Linked DNA regions of Homo sapiens: region 1 is linked to region 2. Evidence: promoter capture Hi-C in human tissues and cell types (Jung and others, 2019). All regions are on one chromosome and are shown on one strand. The core of a region is centred on a gene start or on the middle of the fragment in contact, and the rest is flanking DNA. Distances in the headings are between cores, read along the strand shown. Region 1 holds the start of LOC107984343 (a long non-coding RNA gene). Region 2 holds the start of MRGPRF (MAS related GPR family member F).

The links. The method cuts DNA at HindIII sites, captures the fragments that hold promoters and counts their contacts. A contact is called where the count stands out against the background at its distance.
Region 1: a fragment that was not itself captured here is called in contact with the fragment with the promoter of MRGPRF in region 2 in 1 of the 25 tissues and cell types used here (H1 embryonic stem cells).

What each region holds. Positions count from the first base shown.
Region 1 is chr11:68,685,904-68,692,024 of GRCh38, reverse strand. It overlaps GAL (galanin and GMAP prepropeptide), which reads right to left. Exons shown (of 6, transcript NM_015973.5): 4 at 3,925-4,011; 5 at 3,099-3,176; 6 at 850-1,108. The coding sequence ends at 1,038. LOC107984343 (a long non-coding RNA gene) reads left to right here and starts at 3,167. Exons shown (of 3, transcript XR_001748281.1): 1 at 3,167-3,233; 2 at 4,022-4,184. The HindIII fragment of the contact is 4,733 bases long and covers 1-4,688 here.
Region 2 is chr11:69,011,068-69,017,220 of GRCh38, reverse strand. MRGPRF (MAS related GPR family member F) reads left to right here and starts at 3,975. Exons shown (of 3, transcript NM_145015.5): 1 at 3,975-4,138. MRGPRF-AS1 (MRGPRF antisense RNA 1) reads right to left here and starts at 4,867. Exons shown (of 6, transcript NR_120541.1): 1 at 4,673-4,867; 2 at 3,317-3,430; 3 at 2,905-3,090; 4 at 2,630-2,780; 5 at 1,502-1,610. The HindIII fragment of the contact is 18,072 bases long and covers 1-6,153 here.

The sequences.
Region 1 (6,121 bases), core at 1,073-3,572, 320 kb after region 2:
TGAGACGGAGTCTCGCTCTGTCGCCAAGGCTAGAGTGTGATCTTGGCTCACCGCAATCTCCATCTCCCAGGAGCAAATGATTCTCCAACCTCAGCCTCCCAAGTAGCTTGGATTACAAGCGTGCACCACCATGCCCGGCTGATTTTTGTATTTTTAGTAGAGATGGGGTTTCACTATGTTAGCCAAGCTGGTCACAAACTCCTGACCTCAAGTGATCCGCCCACCTCGGCCTCCCAAAGTGCTGGGATTACAGGCATGAGCCACCGCGACAGGTCGCCTGCCTTCTTTTCGAAACTTCTGGGATGATCTTTTTATCTCTGCTCAAAAGACTCAGTCTCTGTCACGTTAAGAGATATTCCCACAGGCCTTCCTTCACACAGCACCATCCCTGCACACACCTCCTGCCCTTGCCTTTCTACCTGCCCGCCCATCTCTCCTCTCCTGCCTTGCTCCTGGCCCTCCCACCTGGCCAACACGTCTGTTCTCAGCACTGACCACCTCCATGAGTACCACGCAACTCACCCATCTGTTTAAGGTTGTTGTAGTCTTTTTCATTCCCATCTCCCTAAAATATCAGCTCCACGAGGGCAGGGGTTTTGTCTGTTTTGTGTTTTTGTTCATCTCAGTAACAGACTTACCTTCATAATTACATTTGACTCAGCTTAATATGGAGATAAATTTATGTCCCCTGGACATGCAATAACAGGTGGTGTCTCAGATGCTCTTGACGGTAGAATTTGGGTTTAAAATTCATGTCTAATCCACGATTATGATCAAGCTTTATCTTTTAAAACCCATGGGTGGCGCTGGTGATGAGACAGAGGTGTGGAAGAAAAAGACAATTGCAAGTAATTGCTATTCTTTATTTTGCCACTCAAAATAATTACCAAAAAAAAAAAATCTTAAATGATAACAACACAACATCAAGGCAAAGAGAACAGGAATGGCTGACTCTGCATAAATTGGCCGAAGATTATCCATTATCTTAAGGTTTGACTTCAGGTTACAGCACACAGACAAACATGCCCAGGAGGCTCTCAGGACCGCTCGATGTCTTCTGAGGAGGCTGCGGCGGGGAGATCCAGGAGGCGGTCGAGGGCACCGGCCTCTGCAAAGGGAAGAGCCACATCTGAGCAGCAACTTCTTAATATGCACATGAGAGAATTACAACCACGACACATGCTACAGGAAGCGGCGTGTGGTCGTCCTCTGTAAAGATTCTTACCAGATTAAACCCAGAATCAGGGACAACACTCTGTATTCCTCACTTCGTAATGATTTAACTCCCACAGTTAGTAAGCATTTAAAACTGTCAGACTTTTAAATTCAGGCTTTAAAGAGGTATAATTCCTAGCTGAGTAATGAGAGCTGGTATATCCTAAGGAAAGAGTTTCCATGTTACAAAATTAAAAACAAATGAAAAACAAAAATCTAGCAGAGTCCCTCTGCCCCTTGTAGGAAAAGTCACCCCAGCTTTTCTCCCAGAGGCTCCACTGGGCTCCAACAGAGGGAACTTGGTGACTCGGTTTTGAGATTTCTAATGAACACCGCCTTTTCCAAGACCTTCTCTGGCAGTCTCCTTCCCCCGCTCCCCTCCCCTCACTCCTCTTCCCTCTCCCCATCGCCACCTAAAGTGCAGCCCGATAACACTGCAAATGAAAAACATCCTGATCCAAAATGAACCCAAGGATTAGCCTTGATTTTTCAAAACTGGACAAAACTGTGATGTGCAACTGAAGGTCTCCACTGGAGAGGCTAACGGTCCATCCCTCCTCCCCACCACCAGCTCCCTGTTAACTCTCAGAGCAGCAGGTGAAGGTCTTCTCCACTGGAGAGGCTAAGTGGTCCATCCCTCCTCCCCTCCACCACCTCCCCCTTAACTCTCAGAGCACCAGGTGAAGGTCTTCTCTGCTGGAGAGGCAAAGCGGTCTATCCCTCCTCCCCACCACTGCCTCCCCCTTAACTCTCAGAGCACCAGGTGAAGGTCTTCTCTGCTGGAGAGGCAAAGCGGTCCATCCCTCCTCCCCACCACCACCTCCCTGTTAACCCTCAGAGCACCGGGGCCGCTTTCCGGCTCCCTCCACTGCTGCAGTAGGACCTGTGTGGTTATCTGATCAAGGCCAGATGCCCATCGTAGAATGAATGCCAAGCGTAGTGTGCGGAGGTCTCCTCATCCCCAGTGTTTGCAGAAGACACTGGAAGCCAGGATCAGAGCCTTTCCAGTTAGATTTCAAGGCAGCCTGCCTGGCAGGAAGGCTGCATAGAGAAACACTGCAGTCTAAGATATGGGCTTCTATTAATTTCCCATGCTTAGAAAATATGGTTTAGGGCCAGGCACAGTGGCTCACGCCTGTAATCCCAGCACTTTGGGAGACTGAGGCAGACAGGTCACTTGAGGCCAGGAGTTCAAGATGAGCCTGGCCAACATGATGAACCCCAGCCTCTACTAAAAATACAAAAATTAGCCAGGCATAATTGTGCGCACCTGTTTTCCCAGCTACCTGGGAAGAAGAGGCACGAGAATCACTTGAGCCCAGGAGGCAGAGGCTGCAGTGAGCTGAGATTGCACCACTACATTCGAGCCTGGGCGACAGAGTGAGATGAAGGAAGGAAGGAAGAAAGAGAGAGAGAAAGAGGGAGGAAGAAAAAGGAAGGAAGGAAGAGAAAGAAGAAAGAAAGAAAAGAGAGAAGAGAAAGAAAAGACAGAGAAAAAAGAAAAGAGAAAAGGTTTAGGACGGTTCACAAAGAACTTGGCCTGTAGTATACCTCTGCCCTAAAAGGTACAGCAGTTGTCACCGTGTGAATAGATATGGTTCCAGTAGAATGAGCTGCACCCTGAGGCCCACTCTCTTCCTGGGACCAGCGCTGGCCCGATGGCCCTCCACGACGGTAGAATGCCCCTGCCGCAATCCCAGCCCTCTGGAGCTAGCTCTAGTGTTACATTCTCTGTTATCCCGACACACAGCCAAACAGGACTTTGTACGTAGATAAGTAATCGGCTACTTCCCAGGGGGATTCTATGGGTTCTCTTCTCGATGGGCCTTTTACGTTTCCAGTGTACTAAGAGATGAATGTTAAGTTGATGATATTTCACATACCTTTGAGATGCAAGAAAGACAGAAACTCAATGATTGTGCGCATGATATTGTTTTCAGGTATGGACCTGTCAAAGCTTCCTAGAAGAGAAAAGATCAACATTCACGACTTGTGCAGAGGGTGCTTCAGTGTCTCAGGTCATCCCCCTCCCTACAGAGGAGCTGGGCGCTGCAAGGTCAATGATCTGATCCCAGCAGCCTGAGGCCCTGCTGTGCTTTCCAAGGCCCTTGTTCAATGTGAGGGAGTTGGGGAGATATCCAGTTCGAGGCCTCGCTTTTCTTCTTCTTCTTCTTTTTAATTGAGATGGAGTCTCACTCTGTTGCCTAGGCTGGAATGCAGTGTCATGATCTTGGCTCACTGCAACCTCCGCCTCCCAGGTTCAAGTGATTCTCGAGCCTCTGCCTCCCAAGTAGCTGGGATGACAGGCACCCACCACCACGCCTGGCTAATTTTTATATTTTTGGTAGAGACAGGGTTTTGCCATGTTGGCCAGGCTGGTCTTGAACTCCAGACCTCAGGTGATCCACCCGCATCAGCCTCCCAGAGTGCTGGGATTACAGGCAGGAGCCATCGTGCCCAGTCCCGCTCTTCTGGAGGCCCTGGTGCCTGGGCAGCCTCCCAGCCTAGAAGGACCCCTTGCTGTCTCGGGTTTGCACGTTCTGTTTGCAGCTGCTGACAGGTGTGGCGAGGCCACATCGTCTTAGTCAAGTCATGGCCAGGCTTGGGCTGCAGCTGTGGACAGCCCCGACACCCACAGCTGTCCCCTGCATGCACCTGGGAGCTGGTGGAAGTGAGGTGCCCCGGGGCCCGGGATAGGAGTCCTCTCACCTGGTTTCATGTCATCTTCGGGCCGCAGCTCCCGCTTGCTGGTGAGGCCATTCTTGTCGCTGAATGACCTGTGGTTGCCAACGGCATCTGTTTGCAGATCAGAGAGGAAAGCCTCTGGGTGTGACTGTCATGCACGCCCTCCCCACACCCAAAGAAGGACACAGGGCTGCCTGTAGCCAACACACACACGCAACTCGACTGTGAAATAGAGCCCAGGGACAGACACCAGAGCAGAGGGAGCGATTCTCCACCCAGCTGAGGTAAGAGCTTGGCCGCTCACACCAGGGTCAAAGGGAATGTGAGGGTTTGCACAGGGTGGGTGGGAGAAAGGGAGGTGTGGCTCCTGAAGTGGGGGAGAGGCCCAGAACCTGCCCTGTTGCAGGGGTTGCGCCTGGGTCCAGAGGAGCTGGCATCTGAGCTGGCACTGAGCTGGCATCAAACTGGGTGACTCCCTGGCAGACAACAGGAGCTGGGTCCTCATGTCCCTGAAAGCATGGGGGACGCTGAAGAGTTTAAGTTGTGACTGAATCTGATTTTTATTTTCACTCTGGCAGCTGTGTGCAAGATGGACTGGAGCCAGAGAGAGAGAAGGAGAGAGACAGAGGGAGCGAGAGGGTCACAGAGGGAGACAGGATGGGGGTGGGGGGTGCAGGAGCGTGTGTGCGTTCCCGTGTGTGTGTGGGTGTGTTTCGTGGTGCGAAAATGGAGGAACTGTGATTGCAAGCACAGAGATCCCAGAATTCCAGGGAAGAAACGATGAAGGCTGTAAACCAAGAGGCGTGGGGTGAAGAGGAGGGCTGGATTTGGGGCTGTGCAGGAAAGGAAATGGAAATGAGAGATGGGGACGAGGGTGAGGACGCCTCTGTGTTTCCAGCTGGTTGGCCTGGGTGGACTGTGCCATCTACAAGGCCAGACAAAGGAGAATTAACGCGTATTTCCAGAGATGCCGTTCTTGGTGCTAAATTTATAGAGGAATCATAGGTCGCCTCATGTCACTGATGCACCCTCAGCCACGGCCACACTGCGTTCAGCAGCAGCTGGTGCAAAAACATTGCTTTTGCTGCATTTCTAGCAGATCCTAGAAATCAAAGGCACATTTTTAAGTATTTTGACAAACAACTCGTCTAGCTACAGCTGAACAGGGCCGTAAAATTGATGGCGAAAATGAGTTTGTTTTCTAATTAGGGGTCAAACTCTTCTTGACAAATAGATTTTCAATATTCCAAAGCAACACAGATAAATGTTCTCATTGACCAGTTCTGCCTTTGTTTTGGGCCCGTAGCACACAAAGATGAGGTGCCCTCTGAGTGGCAGAGCTCAGGGTTGCAAAGGGTTGAGGAAATCAGCCGACCCTCAGGCAGGTCAGGCCACTCCATGGGCAGGGAGAGGATGAGAGGGCCGCACAGAGACCAGCAGGCTCTGTGGTGAACAGCCTGGACCGATCCGCACGCGGCCTCAGGCGGCTCTGTCATCCCCGTGTCTGTTTCTTAAAGCCTGACTCTGGGGGTCCTCTGAGTGACCCCGATAAACAAGCGTCTGCAGGAGGAGGAAGCTGTATTCGACTCTGGGACTGAGAACTAAGTCAGCTTTCCTTGGCATGGGGAGAAGAGCACCATTCTCCCCATTTGCTGCTCCGCGGGGCTCAGATAGGCCCTGCGTGCTGTTCACATCCTTCCTCTGGCAGAAGGCAGTACAGGGAGGCTTTTAAGGTGGATGGTGAGGTGTGGAGGGGAAGGTGAGTTACAGGAGGGAACCAAGGCCTCCTCTTGTCCCCTCCTTTGGAGGAAAGTCAGAAGGCATTGCTGCACAGACCAAGGATGTGGAGAAAGTAGAGGCCTGGGACAGGGGCGGGGGCGGACACGGGGAGGTGTCAGCCTGCAGTGTCCCATCTAGGGCTAGGGCTCACCTCAGGCAGCAGGGGACACCGCTGACACAGGTGACAACAACAGGACAGGGAGAGGGAGGGGACACAGGCTTGGGCAGGCAGGGTCACCTGAACCTTGTTTTGAGGGGAGCCTGTCTGGGCTGCCTTCAGGCGATCTGGCAATTCCCGTGTGGAGCTTGGAGAAAGGGAAGAGGGAGGCAGGATTTGGGGTCCGCTGACCTAGGGTGCTCTGCAAGCCGAGGAGTTGAGTGTTTTGGGAGACCCGGGGGCCTGGGGAGAGGCCCAGAACAGGGCCTGTAAGGACTGCAAGGC
Region 2 (6,153 bases), core at 2,726-5,225:
CACCTCCCATCCCTCCCTGCCTACCACCTAAGTTTCTGTCACTATGCCTGTTTGGTTTTCTCAATGCACTAATCACAGGTTGGAGTTCTTATGTTCAGTTTTTTCTATTTATCACCTGCTCCCCATGCCCCATGTCTGGTTCTTCCACAATTCTTTTCCTAGCACCAACATTGCTGGTGTTCAGTACAAATGTGTTGAATTAAGGTAAGAATGAATGGATGGGTGGATGGGTGAGTGGGTGGGTGGATGGCTAGATGGATGAATGGATGGATTGATAGATGAATGGATGGATAGACGGATTGATGGATGGATGGGTGGGTGGATGGATGGATGATGGATGGATGGATGGATGGATGGATGGATGGATGGTTTGGTGGATGGATGGATGGATGGATGGATGGATGGATGGATGGATGGATAGATGGATGGATGGATGGTCTGGTGGGTGGGTGGATGGATGGTTTGGTGGATGGATGGATGGATGGATGGATGGATGGATGGATGGATGGATAGATGGATGGATAGATGGTTTGGTGGGTGGATGGATGGTTTGGTGGATGGATGGATGGATGGATGGATGGATGGATGGATGGATAGATGGATGGATGGACGGTCTGGTGGGTGGGTGGATGGATGGATGGATGGATGGATGGTTTGGTGGGTGGATGGATGGATGGATGGATGGATGGTCTTGTACTTGGATGGATGGATGGATAGATGGTTTGGTGGGTGAATGGATGGATGGATGGATGGTCTGGTGGGTGGATGGATGGATGGGAGGATGGATGGATGGATGGATGGATGAGCAAGTAGATGGGTAGTTGAGTGGGTAGATGAGTAAGTGGATAGATGGAAAGATGGACAAATTAACAAATGAATGGTCTACCACATGCAGGACAGAGGATAATGTGGACTTTTGCTGAGATTCCCAAGATGCACCTTCCAGCACAGAAAGGCCCAGCCTAGTGGAGGAGGGGAACAGAGCAGAAGGAGAGGGGTCCCTTTCACTATTAGGAAAGACAGCTAGGCCTTGGTTCAACCTTTTTTCTTTAGACAGAGTCTCGCTGTCTCACCCAGGCTGGGGTGCTGCAGTGGCGTGATCTCAGCTCACTGCAACCTCCACCTCCTGGGTTCAAGTGATTCTTATGTCTCAGCCTCCCAAGTAGCTGGGACTACAGGTGTGTGCCACCATGCCCAGCTAATTTTTTGTATTTTTAGTATAAATGGAGTTTCACGATGTTGGCCAGGCTGGTCTGGAACGCCTGAGCTCAGTCAATCCACCTGCCTCAGCCTCCCAAAGTGCTAGGATTACAGGCGTGAGCCACCACACCAGCCGAATGGCCCTGCACACCTTCTTCATCGCAGGTGCATTTTACTGTGTTTCCTTTGACCTGGTCTGCCTCTCTGTTGGACATCAGCTCCCGGAGAGCAGGGACCTTGCCTGTCCTATTCATCAGCACAGAGCACAGTGCCTGGCACCCTGCAGGTGCTCAGGAAATACCTGTAGTCTTTACTGAGGATGGTGCTGGCTGCAGAGGGGCCACGAGGGCTGGTCCACACCCACCCCCTCGTCCAGGGAGCAGCAGGGCAACCATAGGCCACAGAAGCACCTGGCAGGGAGACATCTCTGTCCAGAACCGACCTCCTTCCCCCAAGGATCCCCCCAACAGAGGAGGGTCCAGGCCTGCACCCTCAGGAGGGGACATGGGGAGAGGCGTAGGACCATGAGGCCCTTGGCAAGGGATGATTAAAAACAAAGTTCTACTGGGAGGGGCAGGGGAGGACTCCTGACGGCAAGTGGTGGCTGTTTAGAAAGTGAAGGCTGGACGAGCAGGGACCATGCCCCATTCTCAGCATCAGCCAGAGCCCTGAGCCTTGCAGGGAGGGCCTGGCACCAGCGGGACACCTGGAGCAGGGAGCGGCGTTGCTGAGGTGCATGAAGAGCTCTTTCTCCCGGCTCCTCCCGGCATCCAATCCCTCCTTGCTATAACCCTGTGGGTCATTATCTTTTCCCATCTGACAGCTGAGGAAACCAAGGTCCCCAGTGGGAAGGAAACTGTCCACGGTCACCCAAGCCTGGAGGCAGCACAGGAACTCCTTGCACTGGGCCTCTGGGCACCACCCCACACACACAGCCCACCACTCCCCCAGGGGGTGGGGAGAGACCCCCAGGGTGGCTGCTACAGACTGCATGTTTGTGGCCCCACCCCCTGCCCTGCTGCCCCACTGCCCTGAATTCATGTGTTGACATCTAATCTCCTGTGTGAGGTGGGGTGTTTGGGAGATGAGCAGGTTATGAGGGTGGGGCCTCATAATGGCATTAATGCCCGAGTAAAAGAGGCCCCATTGAGCTCCTTCGCCTGCCTGAAAGGGGTCACCACATGGGGACTCAGTGAGAGGCTGGGTCCTCACCAGACGCTGAATCTGTGGAGGCCTTGATCTTGGCCTTCCAGCCCCCGGAGCCATGGGAAACAAACGCCTGCTCCGATAAGCCCCTGGTCTGCGGTACTGCAACAGAGCAGCCGGACACACCAAGCCCACGGGAAGGGGACTCCACAAACTCAGGCCAGGACGACCTTCCCGTTTACAAGCGCCTCTCGCTTATTTTGAGAGAAACAGATTTCCATACCAAATAAGGCGGTGGACTTCAGAGCCTCTGCCCACTTCACACAATTCCTTTTAAGTGTCCAAACGCAATTACACTTGGAACTCGCCGGGATTCAGCCTCCCCCGGCCTCCCCATGTAAACAAGCGTTCCAGCTGGGCCCCAGCTGGCTGCCCTGGAGAGGAGGGGACGGGTCACCACCCTGCCTGCTGCCTCCAGCCTCTCTCTCAGCCTCAGGCATGGCCCGTGAGCCTCCAGGATCCCAGAGTCCCTCCTCACCCCATCCCTGAAAAACGGACCCCAGGAGGCCAGCTGAGCCGCGCAGGGAGCAGTGCGAGAGTCCCTCTTCCACGCTGAGGTTCGCACATGGCCAGGACAAGCAGGAGGCAGGCAGCTCCCAGCGCAGGTGCAGGGGCAGCTCCGCTTCTCATTTCCCTTCAAGATGCCCACAGAGGCACATCTCTCCCAGTCTGGGCACTACACTCCTGCAGGGAAAGTTCAGAATTCCCTCGGGCTTCCTGGACCCTGAGAAAGTTGGCCCAGGGTAGGAGGGGAGCCTTCTCATCACCCCCTCCTCCTGGCCACCCTGCTGGCTCCCGCACCCCCGACTCTGCACCCCCACCCCTACCAATGCTCAGTGCCCCAGGCATGAACGCGTTCCAGGACCCCCCCCCACCGCCCGCCTCCAGGGGCTCAATGGGGAAGGGGGACCTGACTCATCCTCCCGCTGAGCAGCGCAGGCACCAGGCACCACAGCCCGCCAATTTCCAGCTTGCTTGCCGAGCGCCGTGATTTTCCACTTGCGCCATCTGATTGCTATTAGGGCTGGGGAAAAGGGAATTCCTGGTTCCATAAGCCCCCAGGGGGCCCAGGCCGAGTCCGGGGTGGGAAGGGGGAGGGGTGCCGCTTGGGCGGTGCTGACCACCTCTGCCAGTTCTGCACTGCCCCTCCATGGAGCCCTCGCCCTGCTGCCCCCCACTGCTCTGTATCAGCCCCTGAGTAAATTAAAACAACGGGGTGGGGACTAGCCCCTCCTGGGCCAGCCTGCCCCGAAATGCCCACTGGGGGCAGACCAAAGACGCCAGGCAAGTGTACAGCCGGTGCTCCCTCTCCTGGGCAGCCCTGCCGAGCAGCAGAATGTGAGGGAGATGAACAGCTGGACTCGGGCTGCAGTGCTCGGGCCAACGTGACGTCACCAGGCGGAGAGATGAGTTCCCGGTGGGGCTCTGGGGGGGGCTCCTGAGCGGGGCATTCCTTCCTGAAGCCTCATCCCCGCTCAGCCCTGCTCAGCCCCTCCTCCTACTCCCCTCCCCCTCCCCCTCCTGCCGGGCCAGGAATTGGGTTTGGGGCGGGTTCTGCTTCCAAAGCCATCTCTTCCAGCAGGAGAGGGCTCTACTCTGAGCTCCTATTTTCCAAGGCTCCGGGCCGCGCTCGGCGCTGGCCTGCTGCCCCGGCGGGTCCGCCGGCCGGAGGCGGGAGTCACAGGAAGAGCCCTCCACAAAAGGAGGCCTCGGCGGATCAGGACAGCTGCAGGTAGCTCCAGGGGCCCAGGGTCCAGGGGAGGGTGTTCCAACAACCGGGGCTGCAGGGTGAGGGCCAGGCAGGGAAGGAAAATGACGCGGGCACTGTAGGGGCAGAGAGGTGGACGCTGTCGGGGCAGGCAGCTCCCAGAAATCCTAAGGCCCCAGGCAGGGAGCCCTGAGACCCCAGAGAGGCTGTCACTCACCGGAGAAGCTCCCCTGCCACTCCTGAGGCTCCAGGGTTCCAGGGCCATGGAGGAACTTTAAAAGTCCCCCTCCCGTGGCAGGACCTGACCCCTCTCAGCTGGCCTCACCCCCAGCCCCACCGTCCAGCTCCTGCTCTGTGCTGCTGGGGGTGAGGGCTCCCTCTCGGTCCCTCCCCCAGCCTCACTGGCCATTCAAGCATGCATTCTAGAGGGGCTGGAACGGAACACCCAGCAGGCAGTGTCCCACACACAGGGAGATGGCTCCCCCTGCTCTCAGCCCTGGGGTGCACATGGGGTGTCCGTGTGGGCAGCCACAGGATGTTGGGCAACTGCAGTCCCACCTTCTCCCAGGCCTGCGGCCTGATGAAGCTGTTGGCCTTGGATGGAGGCGGCTCCTGGAATGATCTGCAAGGTCTCAGTCCCCCCAGACAAGCCTCTTCAATCCAAGCTGTTAAGCAGGGGACTCCAGACCCGGAGTGAGGAAAACAGAGGCTCTGTGTCTGGGGGAGCGAGACAGGCCCCTCTGATGGCGGCACAAGCGGCTAAGGAGAGGGGCTGGGACAGCCCCAGCGGCGTCGGGGCTGGGTCATGGTGGGATGGAGTGAAGGGAGAGGAGGAGCTTCCTGCGGGCAAGGCTGCAGGAGGCTGACAGGTGGCCAGGCCACCCTTGGGCTTGCTCCGAGGGGAGGGTCAGGTGTGAGCTGTGCTGGCAGCTTTTTGGGTCAGCTTCAGTGGAAACTAGTTCTGTCATAGCAGCCCAGATCCCACCCAGAGGAACACACATACACATGTACTGACACGCACGCCCCATCCACGTGTCACACACATGTCCTTTAATATGGCCCATCTGGGGTCTGCTGGCTTCTAGATCTTTCTGTGCATGCGTGAAATCGCTTTTCAGGTTGTCCCTGGCAGGACAAGGACAAATGCACAGGGACACCCACATAATGGAGGGACGCAGATGGTAGAGAGGGGAGCTGGGGGCCCCCACTGCATGCCCACCTGCAGCGTAGGGGGGAGCCCAGCCCACTGCCTTTGGGGCACTAGTTGGTGTGGCTGGGGTCTAGCCTGGCCAGGGTGAATGGATGAGGCTCCTGTGAGTCAGGACATCTCTGGAAACAAGGCTGGGGGCCCAGACCTAGGGGTGGTGGGTGTCCAGAAGGGCCACCAAAAAGAGTAGGGGCAATGGAGAGAGCTTGGGGGGCTCTTACCAGGCGCCCGGAAGGATGAGGGCAGGTGATAGGTCTGGGGTTGCAGGGCAGGAAAGCTCAGACAGGCCCCAGAGCGTGGAGAAGTTACGGCCTGTCTGTGGCAACGGGACAATGGCCCAACTGGAGTCCAAGGAGGGAGACTTAAGATACAGGTCGCAGCACCAGCCATCTGCAAGCCCACTGCACACACATCACAATGCACTGGCTCACTCCGGCACACAAGGTGCCCCCACCCTGGGACACCCCGAAGACCCCAGGCTGAGTCAGCCGTAGGCCAGGCACAGGTGCTCACAAACGCCCTTTGAAGGCGCAGAGCGGCGCGGTCTGGCAGCGCGGGGCCGAGGGGAGCCAGGCCACTGGGTGGGAAGGGTCCTGGGAGCGGCCCCTGGGGCCACACTTGCGCCACCAGCTCCGGGAGGCCCAGGGTTAAAGAGGGGGCGGGCCACACGCGCAGACGGCCACCTCTTCTAGCCAATGGTGGGCGCGGAGGCCAGGAGTACGGCCCGCCCCCGGGCGGGAGGAGTGCGCGGCGGGCGGGGGCACGTGGCTGGCTGAGGCCGGGCGGACCCGCGCGGCGCAGAGGAAAGAATTTCCGGGGAGTTGAGCTGAGC